3 separate regions of the Homo sapiens genome follow, and all the other regions are linked to region 3. Evidence: promoter capture Hi-C in human tissues and cell types (Jung and others, 2019). All regions are on one chromosome and are shown on one strand. The core of a region is centred on a gene start or on the middle of the fragment in contact, and the rest is flanking DNA. Distances in the headings are between cores, read along the strand shown. Region 1 overlaps CDK5RAP1 (CDK5RAP1 mitochondrial tRNA methylthiotransferase). Region 2 holds the start of KIF3B (kinesin family member 3B). Region 3 holds the start of MAPRE1 (microtubule associated protein RP/EB family member 1).

Region 1 (3,725 bases), core at 875-3,374, 560 kb before region 3:
TACGACTGTAGTTCCAGCTACTTGGGAGACTGAGGTGGGAGAATCACATGAGCCCAGGAAGTCGAGGCTGCAGTGAGCCGAGATCGCACCACTGCACTCCATCCTGGGTGAGATAGCGAGACCCTGTCTCGAAAAAAAAGTCTGCCAAGGTGGGAGTGGAGGTAGGACTGATATTCAGCGGGAGGTTAAGACCACCTGCGGGACCGTGAGGGCTGTACAGAGAGGATTTGTTACAAAGTGGGCAGCTGAGTGGTAATAATGGTGGTGGGGCGGTAATGGTGGTGTGGGGTGGACAGGAAGGAGGTGATGTGGTGCTCTGGGAAACAGCCCAGACTTTCGCCTCAGACCCGGGTTCAAATCTCAGCTTTTCCACTGTTTTACCAGCGAGCATGTGATGTTTTCAACTTTTCATCTTTATCTGTAAAATGGGGTTAATAAGGGGTTAACAATTACCTCCTGCTTTGGGTTGTTGTGAAATAGATACAAAGGCATACCTTGTTTTATTGCACTCTGCAGATATTATGGAGTTATTTTTAACAAATGGAAGGTTTGTGGCAACTCTGAATAAGTCTGTCAGCACCATTTTTCCAACAGCATGTGCTTACTTCATGTCTCTGTGTCATATTTTGGTAATTTTCACAATATTTCAAACTTCATTATTATTACATCTGTTATGGTGATCTGTGATCAGTGCTATTTAATGTTATTCTTAAAATTGTTTCGGAACACCATGAGCCACACCCACATAAGAAAGTGACCTAAATTGGTAAATGATGTGTGTGTTCTGACTGTTCCACAGACGGCCATTCCCCCATCTCTCTCCCTTTCCTCAGGCCTCCCTATTCTCTGAGACACAACAATATTGAAATTGGGCCATTTAATCACCCTACAATGGCCTCTAAAGTGCTCAAGTGAAGGGAAGGGTCGCAGGGCTCTCACTTGAAATCAAAAGCCAGAAATGTTTAAGCTTACTGAGGAAATCATGTTGAAAGCCGAGCTAGGCTGAAAGCTAGGCCTCTTATGTCAACCAGCCAAGTTGTAAATGCAAAGGAAAAGTTCATGAAGGAAATTAAAAGTACTACTCCACTGAACACATGAATGATAAGAAAACAACACAACCTCTTTGGCCGGGTGTGATGGCTCACAGGCTGGGCGCAGTGACTCACACCTTTAATCCCAGCATTTTGGGAGGCCAAGGTGGGTGGATCACCTGAGGTCAGGAGTTCTAGATCAGCCTGGCCAACATGGCAAAACTCTGTCTCTACTAAAAATAGAAAAATTAGCTGGGTTTGGTTGTGCAGACCTGTAATCCTAGCTGCTTGGGAGGCTGAGGCAGGAGAATTGCTTGAACCCGGGAGGCAGAGGTTGCAGTGAGCTGAGATTGTGCCACTGCATTCCAGCCTGGGCAATAGAGTGAGACTCCATCTCAAAAAGAAAAACAAGAAAACCCAAAAAAACCACTAACAACAAAACCCAGCCTTTTTGCTGATATGGAGAAAGCTTTAGTGATCTGGAGAGAAGATCAAAGAAGCCGCAGCACTTCCTTAAGCCAAAGCCTAATCCAGAGCAAGGCCCCTCTTCAGTTCTCTGAAGCCCAAGAGAGGTGAGGAAGCTGAAGAAGAAAAGTTTGAAGCTAGCAGAGGTTGACTTACAAGGTTTGAGGAAAGAAGCCATCTCTCTAACATCAAAGTGCAAGGGGAAGCCATAGTGCTGATGTAGAAGCTGTGCAAGTTATCCAGAAGATCTAGCTAAGATCAATGCTGAAGGTGGTTCTACTAAACAACAGATTTGCAGTGTAAATGAACAGTCTTCTGTTGGAAGAAGATGTCATCTGGGACTTTCATAGCTAGAGAAGAGAAATCAGTGCCATTCTTCAAAGCTTCAAAGGACAGGCTGACTCTGTCTCTTGTTTCCTTTTAAAAAAATTAGAGGTGGGGTCTTGCCGTATTGCCCAGGCTGGTCTTGAACACCTGACCTCAAGCAGTTCTCCCACCTAGGCCTCTCAAAGTGCTGGGATCACAGGCGGGAGCTACTGTGCCCAGCCAGACTCTCTTGTTAGGGGCCAAGGCAGCTGGTGACTTTAAGTTGAAGCCAGTGTTGATTTGCCATTCTGAAAATCCTAGGGCCCTTAAGAATGATGCTAAAGAGGATGTTACTTCCTCCACTGAAGTCGTGAGCCCCTCAAAATCATCCATGAATGTTGAAATCAGTATCTTCCAAACTCCTATTAATGTTGACATTTCGACCTCTTCCCATGAATCATTAATGTTCTTAATGGTATCTAGAATGATGAATTCTTTCCGGAATGTTTTCAGTTTACTCTGCCCAGATCCATCACAAAAGTCACTATCTACGACAGCTATAGCTTTATGAAATATATTTCTTAAATAATAAGAATTGATCTTATATAAACTAAAAATTAAAATAATAGGGCTTGAAAGTTGAAATTACTCCTTGATCCATGGGCTGCAAAATGGATATTGTGTTAGCAGGCATAAAAACGACACTAATAATCTCCTTGTACATCTCTTTCAGAGCTCTGGGATGACCAGGTGCGTTGTCAATGAGCAGTCATATTTAGAAAGGAATCTTTTTTCCTAAGCAGTAGGTCTCAACAGTGAGCTTAAAATATTCAGTGGTGGCTCATCCCTGTAATCCCAACACTTTGGGAGGTTGAGGCAGGAGAATCACTTGAGCCTACAAGTTGGACACCAGCCCAGGCAGCATAACAACTTTATAGTTTTTATTTTTTATTTTTATTTTTATTTTTTTTCGAGACTGAGTCTTGCTCTGTCACCCAGGCTGGAGTGCGGTGGTGCGATCTCAGCTCACTGCAACCTCTGCCTCCCAGGTTCAAGCAGTTCTCCTGCCTTGCCTCCCAAGTAGCTGGGACTACAGGCATGCACCACCATGCCTGGCTAATTTTTGTATTCTTAGCAGAGACTTAGTAGAGATGTTGGCCAGGCTGGTCTCGAACTCTTGACTTCATGATCCACCCATCTTGGCCTCCTAAAGTGCTGGGATTACAGGCGTGAGCCACTGTGCCCGGCCCTATAATTTTTAAATAAAAAAATTAGCTGGGCATGGTGGCACATGCCTGTAGTCGTAGTTACTTGGGACGCTGGAACAGGAGGATCGCTTGGCCTAGCAGTTCAAGGTTGGGGTGAGCTACAGTTTCATTGCACTCTAGCGAGGGTGATAGAGTGAAACCCTATCTCGATATATTTAAAAAATATAAATATAATGAAATTAAGGTATGTACATTGCTTTCACTTAATAGACTGCAGTATAGAGTAAATATAACTTTTATTTGCACTGGGAAACCAAAAAATTTGTGTCACTCACTTTATTGCAATATTCTCTTCATTGTGGTGATCTGGAACCAAACCTGTGATATCTCTGAGGTATGCCTATATTGTGTCAAAGGTACTTAGCACAGTGCCTGGCATGGAGTAGGTAGCCCACATCTGAAACCTTTTTTTGGAGGTTTTTTGTTTCAGTGAAAAGTCTTTCTTTTGGCCCCGACTTTCATCTTTTTTCCTCTGGATTGTCTTCTTATTGAGTTGTAAAAGTTCTTTACATATCCTTTATTTTTTTGACCACTGCAAAGGAGCCTTTCTTGCAATGGAGGAGAGAGACTGGAATGTGTTCTCTTTATGTTTTCTTTTCTTTTCTTTTTCTTTTTTTTTTTTTTTTGAGATGGAGTCTCGCTCTGTCACCCAGGC
Region 2 (3,666 bases), core at 1,110-3,609, 540 kb after region 3:
TCCTCTCATCATTTCAGAGGTACTGAGCATCATTTCAGAGGTAAAGTAGCACCTCTTTGCTCAGTAGCACACAGCTTGGAAGTGGCAGAGCCAAGATTTTAGTCCAGGTAGTCTGATTGCAAGCTTTTAACCACAACTGCATAACAGCACTGAAAGGGCCTTCAGTATAATCTAGCCTAGTCCCCTCATTTTAATGAGGAGGGAATGAGGGACAGAGAAGCCCTCTTTTAAAGATTCCAGCTCTCAGGCTGGGCACAGTGGCTCATGCCTGTAATCCCAGTCCTTTGGGAGGCCAAGGCAGGCGATCACCTGAGGTCGGGAGTTTGAGACCAGCCTGACCAACATGGAGAAACCCCATCTCTACTAAAAATACAAAATTAGCCGGGCATGGTGGCACATGCCTGTAATCCCAGCTACTTGGGAGGCTGAGGCAGGAGAACTGCTTGAACCAGGGAGGCGGAGGTTGCAGTGAGCTGAGATGGCACCATTGCACTCCAGCCTGGGCAACAACAGCAAAACTCCGTCTCAAAAAAAAAAAAAAAGATTCCAACTATTTTCTGAGATCCTCACTTTGGGTGGTATCTATTTAAATAAAGCTTTACCTGAGATCTTGTTTCCTTGCCTTTTAACTTCTAGCCAGTTAAAAGTAACAAAAGAATACCCCTGTGGCCTTATAATAGCAACTGTTGCAAAATCAGAGGCAACAGTGAATGGGGGATAAAATACAGGATTTACCTAGAAACACGTCCACTTCCATCACTTAATAGATACAAGATTCTTAGGCAATGACTGGGTGTGGTGGCTCACGCATGTAATCCTAGCACTTTGGGAGGCCGAGGCAGGTATATCACTTGAGGCCAGGAGTTCGAGACCAGCCAGGCCAACATGGTGAAACCTTGTCTCTACTAAAACTACAAAAATTAGTGGACGAGGTGGTGAACATCTGTAGTCCCAGCTACTCGGGAGGCTGAGGCAGGAGAATCGCTTGAACACACGAGGCGGAGGTTGCAGTGAGCTGAGATCGCGCCACTGCACTCCAGCCTGGGCAACAGACTAAGACTCTGTCTCAAAAAAAAAAAAAAAAAAAAGGATTCTTAAGCAGGTCCTTCCCTTTACTTTTCTGAACCTCAGTTTCCTCATCGGCAAAATGAGGATGACATCACCAGGCACCTGGCAAAGTCTACATAAAGATTAAATGAAATAATATGCCTGGTAAAGTGCTTCTTAATCATATGCTTGTAAATAGTTATTACTGCTTTAAGCACTTCCCAAAGGACACAAAGATGCCTTTTTTCTTCTGGAAGGGTCAACGAAGCCCAGGTAGAAAATGAGACCATGACCCCAGCTATCTACAAGGGGTTGACCTCAAAGAGTTTCCCAGGACTACTTGTAGAAGTACCTCCCTTGCTCTGAGCAGAATGGAGAAGTAAAACCGGGGTTGGGGGTTGGCATTGCAGTAGGACTACCCATATGAGCTGGCACTCTACACACCTACACCTTACCTGTCCCAAAGTCATCTCCTCCTGGAAGTCTTGCCCTCCTACCCTGGACGCCTCATAATAGCTGGTTGAGCACTTACTATGTGCCAAGCTACTTGACATACCCAGTCTCACTGATTTCCACAGTAGTCTATTACCTCATTTCACAGATAAGGAAAAGAAGACTCAGAGAAATTAACTTGCCCAGGGCCACACAGTTACTAAGTGGAAATGCCACGTCTCTAACTCGCTCAGACTTCAAACTGCCCTCTTGGTCTCCCATCTAGGGTGCCCTAAGAATTCTCCCTCTCCCCATTTAGGGCACTTTCACATACACTTCTCATTATCTTTACCACTCTGAGCAGCAATGTTAGGACCCCATTGAATAAACAGGTCAGCTAAGGCCAGGGAGGTGAAAAGACTTGCCCAAGGTCACACAGCAAGCCCAGCACAGCGCCGAGGTTCGGACCCCAGGCTCTCGCTTCCCCGCCCTCCTCCCAAACTGGGGCCCTGACCACCGCCTCAGGGCCCCCAGGTGGGCTGCGACCCAAGGTGGCCGTGTCTGGGGGTCGGGCCGCGACCCTGCCAGGGGAAGGAGGGGCAAGGCCGTCCGGACTACCAAAGGATGCCTAGGAGGCAGGGCAGAGGATGCTCCGGCTCGCGGGACAGCAAAGCCAGGCAGAGGCGCGGGCGCAGGTCGCAGGGAAAACCCCAGGCGGCCACAGGATTAGCCCTGCTCGGTGGGCGCCCGGCCCCTCCGACTCACCTGAGGCCCGAGCCGAAAGCGGGCGGCGGCGGCGGCGGCGGCGGCGGCGGCGGCGGCGGGGGCGGCGAACCCCTGGCTCAGCCATTCCCCGCTGCCCCGGATGGGGAGAGACAGTGGCCGCTCACTTCCTTAGCAACCTGGCTCGGCGACCCACTTCCTTAGCAACCGGTGTCAATTTCAATAACTTTATTGGCACACGAGCAGAGGACAGGGAAAGCCGGCTGGAGGGGTCTGGGCGGGGCTCAGGTCGGTGCTGGTGTTTAGCGGGGGCCCAACACACCTCGGTCTCCTCACCCACCTAAGCGGGGAGAGTGGCGCACAACGTGGCCTGACTCCATCCTCTGGTATCTCGTGCCTCAGTTTCCCATCTGTAAATGGAACACACGCGATTTCAGCCGCCGTTCAACCTTTCTAAAAGCTTTCACATCCATTATCTGACTGGTGTCTCAAACTGCTACTGAGGTAACTCCCATTTAGGGTGCCCCCAGTGACTCAATACGAACACCTATAGGCACCCTTGTTGTAGCTTTCCTGTCCTTCACCCAATCCAGTCAGTCACAACCGCCCCAGGCAAGGCCAGGCCACGCTCATCTCTAGCCTGCCTGAAATATCTGGTCTGTTTCCATTCTTTTGTCCAGCTCTGTCCGAACAATCCATTTTCCATAAGGTGGCCAGAGTAATTATTTAAAACAGATCATGCGGCCAGGTGCGGTGGCTCCCGCTGTAATCCCAGCACTTTGGGAGGCTGAGGCAGGTGAATCACCTGAGGTCAGGAGTTCGAGACCAGCTTGGCCAACATGGCGAAACCCCGTCTCTAATAAAAATACAAAAAATTAGCCGGGCGTGGTGGCGCATGCCTGTAGTCCCAGCTACTCGGGAGGCTGAGGCAGGAGAATCGCTTGAACCCGGGAGGCAGGGGTTGCAGTGAGAGAGATGGCACCACTGCACTCCAGCCTGGGCGACAACAGCGAAACTCCGTCTCAGATATAAAGATTAAAATAAATAAATAAATAAATAAATAAATAAAACAGATCATGCCACTTTCTGATTAATACTCGATTTAATGGAGTCTCATTGCTCTTAGAATCAAATATGAAGTCCTTATTACTTCCTGCAAAATTCGTTAAAACTCTATTCCAACCACACTGGCCTAGAAGGGCAGGTTCCAACCCCCATGGAACTTACACCTGCTGTTCCCCACTAAATAGAAACTGCATAAGAGCAGTCTTTTATTTGTTCACTCTTGTATCCACCATGCCTGGAACCAAGCTTAGTCAATAGTAGTTGCTGAACAAATATGTTTTGCTCCTTGAATAAATGAATACCTGAGATGGTCTTCTTCATCTGCCTACAACTACTTTTTGCCTGTTGTGGCAGATATTGCTACTTCCTCTCAAAAACGTTATTTCTTCCTGCTCCTGG
Region 3 (3,366 bases), core at 170-2,669:
ACACTCCGCCTCTCAGAGTCTCAGACCCCTTATTTGTAAAATGAAAGTAATCTCTCTTGCCAGGCGCGGTGGCTCACACCTGTAATCCCAACACTTTGGAGGCCGAGGCGGACAGATCACTTGAGGTCAGGAGTTCGACAACAGCCTGGCCAACATGGCGAAACCTCGTCTCTACTAAAAAATACAACAATTAGCCGGGCTTGGTGGCGCGCGCCTGTAATCCCGACTACTCGGGAGGCTGAGGCACGAGAATCGCTTGAACCCGGGAGGCGGAGGTTGCAGTGAGCGATGGTGCCACTGCACGCCTGGGCAACAGAATAAAACTCTGTCTCAAAAAAAAAAAAAAAAGGAAGAAGAGAATCTCTCTTAAAGACAGTGTTAGTATTAAAAGACACAAAGCCACATGGAGCACTTAACAGTGCTTGACACAAAACAAGTGCCCAACTAACAAAGAGCTGCTATTATCATTACTACTGTTAGAGACATGCCATCGGAGAAGCGGATGCCCGGCCTAGCATAACCTCCCTCAATGGGCCCCAGGATCCTCATCCCCAAAATGGGGCAGAGGTCAAGCTCTGCCCTGCAGCATCCGAGGGCAACTGTGAAGTAGGGACTGAACTAGCACTGTTGATACCATCCCGTTATACTGTCCTCCTGCTCATCATAATGTGGATTCCTGGAGAGCAAATCTTTGTTCCCGGGAAAACAGCCAGGGTTTAGCACGGTGCCCAACACCTAGTGGGCATTCAATAAACACACACTGAAGAAAGGAGGGAGTCCAAGAGCTGGCTTACTTTCTGCCATACATCGCGCTAAGAGTTTAATGTGGGTAGTATTACTGTCCCCGTTTTACAGATGAGGAAGCTGAGATCCACAGCGGTTAAAGCACCTGTCCAAGGTCACACCGCACGGAACCCAACCCAGGTCTGACTCCACCACCCGATCTCTCGGCCCTCAGGCAACACGGCCTCCCACAATGTGCGTCCCCAGAGCTCCCAGGACGGCCCACCTCGCCCACACCCTCCCAGGGCCCAACCACCCTGGGACCTCCAGTCGCTGCAGCGCAGGGACCACACCTCAGCGGCGGCCCAGAAACCCCCACCCCGCGTAGCAGCAGCCCACTTCCGGCCCGAGACCCCGCCCCCTGAGCAGAGCGCAGCGCGCGCCCCCAGGCCCAGCCCGCGCGCGCCGGGTGACGGCCCCGCCCTTCCCCCACCCGGCTCGAACAGCACCGCCGTGTGGAACGGCCCTGGCGCTGCCCGTAGGGCCTGCCCGCGCACGCCCGGCCTTGGCCCACGCGGCCGCCCCCCCAGCCGCACCCCCCGGGCCCGCTAGCCGGCTCACCGGCTCTCGGCAGAACCGCGTCCACTGCCCGCAACCGGCTCCGGTTCCGTCTTCGTCTCGTTCAAACCGCCAGACCCCGCCCGCCCGCCCGCGCGATGACCTCACACGCACCCCCTCGTTACGCGCCGACGTAAAGGCTCGCCATCCTCCGCCGGCTCCTTTTATAGAGAGGGTCTCAGCCGCGCGCCGGGGGCGGAGCTCGGCCCCTGATCCACAGAACGGTAGCCGAGGGGCGGGGCCCCGACCGCCGGGGCGACTGCGGCACGTGGTCGGTCGCAGCCAATGAGGTCCCGCCTCGGCCCGGTGTGACTCAGTTACAAAATCCCTATGGCAGTAACCAAAAAGAAAATTGCTTTTACAATGAATTTTTTTTTTTTTTTGCTTAGAGATGTATGGAGGTCTCGCTGTGTTGCCCAGGGTGGTCTCGAACTCTTGGCCTCAAGCGATCCTCCCGCCTTAGCCTCCCAAAGCGCTGGGATAACAGGCGTGAGCCACCGCTCCCAGGCTTACAATTAATTTCTGTAAGAATGGGTTATTGAATCATAAAGATACCTAATAGACACTTTGGGGAAACGCTTAGAAGTCAACTTTCTGGGCCGGGTGCAGTGGCTCACGCCTTTAATCCCAGCACTTTGGGAGGCCCAGGTGGGAGGATCACCTGAGGTCAGGAGTTTGAGACCAGCCTGGCCAACATAGTGAAACCCCATCTCTACTAAAAATACAAAAATTAGCCTGGCGTGGTGGTGGGCGCCTGTAATTCCAGCTACTTGGGAAGCTGAGGCAGGAGAATCACTTGAACCCAGGAGACGGAGGTGGCAGTGAGGCGAGACTGCACCACTGCACTCCAGTCTGGGCGACAGAGCAAGACTCTGTCTCAAAAAAAAAAAAAAAAAGTCACGTTCTGTGACGCCCCCGCCCCCCCATCTGCAATATCATGCGGCATATTTTCTTCTTAGTACCATAAGAAGGCATCTTGTGCCTTTACTGTCTGTCTCCTGTAAAGTCCACAGGAGCAAGGACCTCCTGAGTCCTGTTCCGGGTTGTTTCCCAATGGCTGTACATACATTCTCTCTTGCCCACTCCCTCTTTTTTTTTTTTTTTTTTTTAAGAGATGGGGTCTTGCCATGTTGCCCAGGCTGGGCTGGTCTCCTGGGCTCGAGAGATCCACCCGCATCGGCCTCCCAAAGTGCTGGGATTACAGGCGTGAGCCACCACACCTGGCCCTTACATTCTCAAGAGAGCCTTGGCTGAAGGAGGAACTGGGCTGGGCGTGGTGGCTCACACCTGTAATCCCAACACTTTGGGAGGCCAAGGCGGATGAATTACCTGAGGTCAGGAGTTGGAAACCAGCCTGTCCAACATGGCGAAACCCCATCTCTACTAAAAATGCAAAACTTAGCCGGGCATGGTGGTGGGCGCCTGTAATCCCAGCTACTTGGGAGGCTGAGGCAGGAGAATCACTTGAACCTGGGAGGCAGAGGTTGCAGTCAGACTTCGTCTAAAAAAGAAAAAAAGAGGAACTGCACCACTTTACAGCAGAAAGAAACTGAGGGACAAAGAGGCCAATTGACTCACTCAGTGTCAGAGGTAGATCCAGATTTCAAGCTGACTTTTTTTGTCTGGGTATCATTTATTCAAGTATTCAACAAATATTTTCCCTGACCAATCAGGCCCTGGTGAAAAAAAGACACAATCTGATCATGGTGGTACGTGCCTTTAGTTCCAGCTACTGGGAAGGCTGGGGCAGGAGGATCGCTTGAGCCCAGGAGTTCGAGGCTGCAGTGAGCAAAGATCACGCCACTGCACTCCAGGCCTGGGAAACAGAGTGAAACTCCATCTCTAAGAGATAAAAACGAAAACTAGACACAGCTTCTGACCTCTTAAAGTTTCCAGACTGGCAGGGGAGGCAAAGGGGACACAACTAATGACACAAATCCTTGTTAAATTACAAATCAGGCTCAATGCTAGGCAGGGACATTATGTGGTGGGCTGATGGTACTTCCACTGTGTGGAGCAGGGGCC

What was found. The method cuts DNA at HindIII sites, captures the fragments that hold promoters and counts their contacts. A contact is called where the count stands out against the background at its distance.
Region 1: a fragment that was not itself captured here is called in contact with the fragment with the promoter of MAPRE1 in region 3 in 1 of the 25 tissues and cell types used here (dorsolateral prefrontal cortex).
Region 2: a contact is called between the fragment with the promoter of KIF3B here and the fragment with the promoter of MAPRE1 in region 3, in 1 of the 25 tissues and cell types used here (spleen).

What each region holds. Positions count from the first base shown.
Region 1 is chr20:33,375,373-33,379,097 of GRCh38, reverse strand. The region is part of intron 8 of CDK5RAP1 (CDK5RAP1 mitochondrial tRNA methylthiotransferase); the gene reads left to right. Among named protein-coding and RNA genes, the nearest start is that of CDK5RAP1, 24 kb to the left of the region's middle. The HindIII fragment of the contact is 4,046 bases long and covers 102-3,725 here.
Region 2 is chr20:32,276,344-32,280,009 of GRCh38, reverse strand. KIF3B (kinesin family member 3B) reads right to left here and starts at 2,359. Exons shown (of 9, transcript NM_004798.4): 1 at 2,245-2,359. LOC124904885 (a long non-coding RNA gene) reads left to right here and starts at 2,467. Exons shown (of 2, transcript XR_007067561.1): 1 at 2,467-2,706. RefSeq lists silencers at 1,984-2,163, 2,184-2,343 and enhancers at 1,997-2,507, 2,554-2,603. The HindIII fragment of the contact is 2,728 bases long and covers 361-3,088 here.
Region 3 is chr20:32,818,007-32,821,372 of GRCh38, reverse strand. It overlaps MAPRE1 (microtubule associated protein RP/EB family member 1), which reads right to left and starts at 1,419. Exons shown (of 7, transcript NM_012325.3): 1 at 1,345-1,419. RefSeq lists enhancers at 1-370, 371-1,040 and a silencer at 1,113-1,702. The HindIII fragment of the contact is 10,810 bases long and covers 1-3,366 here.